Regions from separate parts of the Homo sapiens genome. Here region 2 is linked to region 1. The links are contacts of gene promoters, found by promoter capture Hi-C in human tissues and cell types (Jung and others, 2019). All regions are on one chromosome and are shown on one strand. Each heading gives the region's core, a stretch centred on a gene start or on the middle of the fragment in contact. The rest is flanking DNA. Distances are from core to core; before and after follow the strand shown. Region 1 holds the start of MLF1 (myeloid leukemia factor 1). Region 2 overlaps RSRC1 (arginine and serine rich coiled-coil 1).

What was found. Contacts are between HindIII fragments. The study calls those that stand out against the background at their distance.
Region 2: a contact is called between a fragment that was not itself captured here and the fragment with the promoter of MLF1 in region 1, in 1 of the 25 tissues and cell types used here (heart left ventricle).

Annotation. Positions count from the first base shown.
Region 1 is chr3:158,569,598-158,572,673 of GRCh38, reverse strand. MLF1 (myeloid leukemia factor 1) reads right to left here and starts at 1,480. Exons shown (of 8, transcript NM_001369783.1): 1 at 1,327-1,480. The coding sequence starts at 1,373. MLF1-DT (MLF1 divergent transcript) reads left to right here and starts at 1,608. Exons shown (of 5, transcript NR_104147.1): 1 at 1,608-2,503. The HindIII fragment of the contact is 8,231 bases long and covers 1-3,076 here.
Region 2 is chr3:158,119,299-158,122,374 of GRCh38, reverse strand. RSRC1 (arginine and serine rich coiled-coil 1) reads right to left here. Exons shown (of 10, transcript NM_001271838.2): 2 at 77-272. The coding sequence starts at 270. Among named protein-coding and RNA genes, the nearest start is that of RSRC1, 11 kb to the right of the region's middle. The HindIII fragment of the contact is 8,881 bases long and covers 1-3,076 here.

The sequences.
Region 1 (3,076 bases), core at 231-2,730:
CTCCTCCCTCCACCTCACGCCCCAACCCTCCCTCGTCCCACTACCTCTCACCCTCAAACCTCTTCCCCCTACCTCACGCCCTCAACCCTCCTCCCACATCATGCTCTCAAGCCCTTCCCACCAACTCACGCCCTCAACCCTTCTCCCCAACCCTCCTCCCACACCTCATGCCCCCAAATCCTCCTCAGCCCCTAAATCCTCCTCCATCCACCTCACACCCTCAACCCTCTTACCGCCACCTCACGCTCCCAAACCATCCCCACCAACTCATGCCCTCAATCCTCCCCTGCACTTCATACTCCCAAACCCTCCCCACCAACTCACGCCCTCAACCCTCGTCCCTGCACTTCAAGCTCTTAACTCTCCCCTGCACCTCATGCTCCCAAACCGTCCCCCCACCTCACGCCCTCAACCCTCCTCCCCCCACCTCGCGGTCCAAAACCCTCCTTCCCCTCACCTCACACCCTCAACCCTCCCCCACACCTCATGCTCCCAAATCCTCCTCCCACCTCACGTCCTCAACCCTCCTCCTACACCTCACACCTTCAACTCTCCCCCACACCTCATGCTCCCAAACCCTCCCCCCACCTCACGCCCTCAACCCTCCTCCAAACGCCTCACACCCCCAAATCCTCCTTCGTCCATCTCACACCCTCAACCCTCCCCCCTCCACCTTACTCCCCCAAACCCTCCTCCTCCCACCCCACGCTCCCAAACCCTCCCCCCACCTCACAGCCTCAACCCTCCTCCCCCCACCTCACGCTTTCAAACCCTTCCCCCACCTCACGCCCTCAACCCTTCCCCTCACCTCACGCCCTCAACCCTTCCCCTCACCTCACGCCCTCAACCCTTCCCCTCACCTCACACCCTCAACCCTTCCCCTCACCTCACGCCCTCAACCCTCCTCCCTCCCACCTCATGCTCCCAAACCCTTCCCTCACCTCACGCCCTCAACCTCTTCTCCCCACCTCATGCCCTCAATTCTCCTCCCCCCACCTCCCGGCCTCAACTCTTCTCCCCCCACTCCCAGCCTTAACTCTCCTCCCCACACCTCACGCCCCCAAACTTCCCTCCGCCTACCTCACGCGTCCAAACCCTCCTCTCTCCACCTCATGCGCCCAAATCCGTCTCTTCCCTGTCTCACACACCCCTAAATCCTCCTCTCTCTTCCCTCCCAGGCCTCCAAATCCTCGTCTCCTTCAAACCGCCTCCAGAGTTACTCCGAATTCTCTCTCGCCCTCTAAAACTCGCTCTTTTCCCTTAAAATAGCTCCCCTCGATACCTTAATTCCCGCGCGACCCCGGACTCCTGGCTCCCGTAACTCACGAGAAGAAGGGGTCATCCTCAAAACTGCTGTTCAGCATCCTGAACATTCTGGCTCTGTCTTGGGTGGCGGCAGCCGCGGACAGATTGGAAAAACGATGTTAACTCGCCGCGGCCGCGACAAGAGCTAGCCTCCAGTACGGACGACGCCTCACTCGCCGCGGCGCAGGCGGTGCCCGCCGGGATAGGAGGTGCGTGACACCGAGCTGCTTTCCCATTGGACATTGCTCTGTGACGTCACCAGGACGAGGCGGGGAGCAATGCGCCGCTGCCCTGGCAACCGCAATCAACACAGTGGAGGCGAGAAGTCTGGCCTTGCGCCGGCCGGGGAGCTTTTCGCCAAGGCTCCTGTGGGATGGGATAGCTTGTTCTCTGGGCTGCAGGAACCAAAACATTAGACCACCCTTTCTGTGACCTTGGGCATGCCGCCCTCGGTTCCGAGCCGCAAGTCTTTCTTTCGGGGAAAATGAAAAGGGGTCAAGATTTGGACCAGATGACACCCAATGTCCCATTCAACGGTCGCATTCTGTCATCCACAGGAATTAGTCCTGTATCCGAAACATTCTCTGGTAGTCAAAAGCTGTGAGCAAATAATAAGAAAAAATGTGCAAAACGTTTTTTAGTACAGTTAGCAAATAGTGTACTCAGTTGTTGAAGGAAATGGGATGAAGCCTATCAGATTTCAACAAACTTATTTACCTCTTGAGAAAGCTGCTCTCTTTTCGGTTGTCCTTCTGTGTCTCTCTTTCAAAGATCAAGTCTCACTGCGATGCTGATATGTTTTTAACACTTCTCCAGCATTTCTTAACCTAACAGCAGGTTTCAGGCACAGGCCTGCAGCAAGCAGCCATATCCAACTAAAATTCCACTACTATATGTTTTTATTTGCATTACATTTATCAGGGAGCTTTCTATTTATGGCAAGGAAACTGATTTTAAATTTAAATCAGTGATATACATCAAGAGCTAGATTTTGCATTTTTAAGTGAAAAAGTAAGCTATCAAATAGAACAGGTGGAATTTGGATATGGTGGGGCGGAGGGGTAGGCAGAGCAGGGGAGAGGAACATCGTGATAGTGGTACTCAAATTACTAAGTTTTAGAAAACACTATCACGGGGCCTTTCAGGAGCCTGGAGACAGATGGAGGGGAAGACAGAAGAGAGATTAAGGAGAAGAATGGTAAGAGTATAAGAAAAGAGAAAATACATCTTGCATGTCCACCCTTAATTCAGTGAGCTCCCCAGCTTCTCTACGTGGCTGTCTTGCAGAGATAAAGGGGCGTCCATAGCTCATCAGGGCCCCCTGGGATCAGGCCAGAGGGGTGGCACTTTGCCAGCATGAAGAAGTGTGCAAGCCCTGATTTGGAGGTGACAGGAGTAGTCAGGGGTTATTTTGAGAGCTGGAAATTTAATCGTTTGGATCTTTTACTCCCCATCCCCCTTTTTTAGCCAAGTTCTCTGGCAGCTTCCTTCCCCTGAGACTGGTGGCATGGGGTAGGGCAGACTTCACAGCCCAAGATGAGATGGCACAGCCCATCCAGGAAAGAGGATATTTTCTTTTCCTCTGGACTCAGAATAAAGCTCAGAGAACATATACACAAAATTTCGAAAATTTCTAAATAAATTTCAAGGCAAACAAAATTGTTTTATAAGACCTTAAATTGTTTTTCTCTTTAAAATAGTATAAGCACAAGATGTGAAGGAGGCCACACTTAAAAAAAAACTTGAAATGGAGTAAGTTATGTGATAAAAG
Region 2 (3,076 bases), core at 183-2,682, 450 kb after region 1:
AAATTAAAAATACAAAAACATGAATTTTAAAGAATGTTATCCTCATTACTATATAAATAAAAATTACAAAAATCACCTTCTATCATAAGAATGTGAACGAGGCTGAAGATCTCTGGACCAAGATCTTGACTTTGATCTTGATTTCCTTCCTCCTTTCTTTCGGCTGTATGTTCTACTATCTGAAGAACTGCTCGAGGAGGACCGTCTACGGTGTTTCTTTTTTCTCTTGCTTCTGCTTTCTTCTTCAGTATCTGATGACCGACGTCCCATTTCTATAAGCATAAATTTGAAGAATATTATTTCTAACATGGTGGCACAATGGATGAAATGCAATATATTAATTTTTTATTTCATTTATTTATTTATTTTAGAGATGGGGTCTCCCTCTGTATCCCAGGCTGGAGTGTAGTGGTACAATCATTGCTCACTGCAACCTGGAAGTCCTGGGCTCCAGCGATCCTTCCCCCAAGCCTTCCAAAGTGCTGGGACTACAGGCATGAGCCACCATTTCTGGCCTCAATGTACTACTTTTTATAAAACTTTGTAAAATTTTTAAAAGTCTTATTCAAAGTAAAATTGTTTATGTGCCTGGCTTCTTGACAAGACTGAGAGCAGTTCTTTATATCAATTATCTGATATTTTAAGTTATATTTCTCATTAATTATATGACATTTTCTTTAGTAATCAACCAACTATTCCTTTATTCTCACATTCCCTAATGACAAAATATATTTTACTATCTTAGAGTTGAATTTTTTTTCTAACAGAAAATTCTACATCTTTAAATAGCTAAAACCTCATTAGTCATCAACAAAGTACAAACTGAAACAATGAACTATAATCATCATTTCACTTGTGAAACTCAGGGGAGACAATATTAACTAAAGTACTAAAGTTGATGAGGTTATTGAGAAATCAGTCAGCTCTTCACACACTGCTAGTATCTCTATAAGGTGGTAGAATAATCTTTTTAGAAAGCAATAAAACAATAAATTAAGCAGATATAATAGATATTATATCTATAACAGACATCCACATTTGTATGTGTATATTACACACAAACATATATATTTATATCCACATTAAGAAATATGTACACAATTGAGTAATAATAATCTAAAAATGTTGATGCTTTTTTGACAGAGAAATCCTACTTCTACAAATACATCTGAAAAAATTTTTCTAAAGGATATATTCATGAAAATATTCATCACAGCATTATTATAGTGGTATCCATTGAGATAATTTAAGAAAATATGTACATATGAAAATTAGTATTTAAATGATGCAATATAATTTTCATAATATAAAATATAGTTTTTCAAACTATTTCTATATAGTTATGGTAACACGGACATTTAGTATACAACAGAAAAAACAAATAGAACCTAAGGCTTTCATATTTAGGAATTAACTTTGCTGACAAGAAGCTTAGTTGTCTTACTTTAATTTAGATTCTCATATGCAATACTATTTTTTATTAAAATAGTTATTAGTTATCTTTCAAAGTCATATAAAAACAAGATCCATTCGTTGTAATCACTTAGGATAAATAAAAGCTCACATCATCTTTAATATTTATTCAAAATAAGTTAAATACCGTCACTATAAACAAAGTATTATGTTGGTGCAAAAGTAATTGCAGTTTTTACCATGACTTTTAATGGAATATATTTATATATATATAAAATATATATTATCTATTTAATATATTAAATATATATTATGTATAGTATGTTTAACATTAAATATATTATATATTAAATATTAACTATATAATACTTAATATTAACTGTATATTTAATATATTAATATTAATATATTAATTCTATATTATTTATATATTTAATAATTAATACATTCCATTAAAAGTAATGGCAAAAACCACAATTACTTTTGTGCCAACTTATAATATGTTAAATTACTGCTTTGCTTTCAGAAGCATCAGGTGAGCCAGCCCCTCCCTGATTCCAATACAATACCAGTTGAAAAAATCTCTTAGGACTCAAATCAAAACTTTAAGCTATTTACCTAGAGCCAGAATTAAGGATTTTAAATGTAGCTCTGAACGTCCAAGTTGCTCACATGTCTAAGATTTTAGTTTAACAAAACACTGGGAAGACTTGGTTTTGAAGATTTCAGTAAATCACTTACATATCTAAGCCAGTTTCCTCATTTAAAAAATGAAACTACAATAGGTAAAAGATTACCACGACACTTTCCAGCTTTAAAATGACTATGAAAGTGGCCAGGTGCAGTGGCTCACGCCTGTAATCCCAGCACTTTGGGAGGCCGAGGCGGGCGGATCCTGAGGTCAGGAGTTCGAGACCAGCCTGATCAACATGGTGAAACCCCATCTCTACTAAAAACACAAAAAGTAGCTGGGCGTGGTGGCATGCGCCTGTAGTCTCAGCTACTCAGTAGTCTGAGACAGGAGAATCGCTTGAACCTGGGAGGCGGAGGTTGCAGTGAGCCGAGATAGTGCCATTGCACTCCAGCCTGGGTGACAGAGCGAGACTCTATCTCAAAAAAAAAAAAAAAAGACTATGAAATTATAAATATATACAACATGTATATATATGTAAATACAAACATACATTTAAATACAAACATAATTCAGATGTATATAAGGTATATCTGTACATACATATAAATTCACATGTGTCCATATCCATTTATACATAAAATATATACATATATCCATTATATATATCAAATAGATACCCACATATGTATGTGTGTATATTATACACACACACATATACTTATATCCATGTTAAGAAATATGTACACAATTGAATGATAATAATTTCATTTCTTGGCTTTTAATTCCTTTCTTGTTTTTACCTTTAATCATTTAAGAATGTTCCTCACAAACAAATAACCATTTAAATTAAGATGAGCTTTTACTATCTTGCTATCTTGTTTTAAAAAATACCAAAATAAGATTAAAGAAATTAAAAAGTATAAATTTGAAAGGATAGAGACTAGAAAACAACAGGAACATGAGATATGTCAACAAACTTTTGGCAAGTGAAAAACACATGGAGAATTTAGAGCTAAGAAAACTTATTAT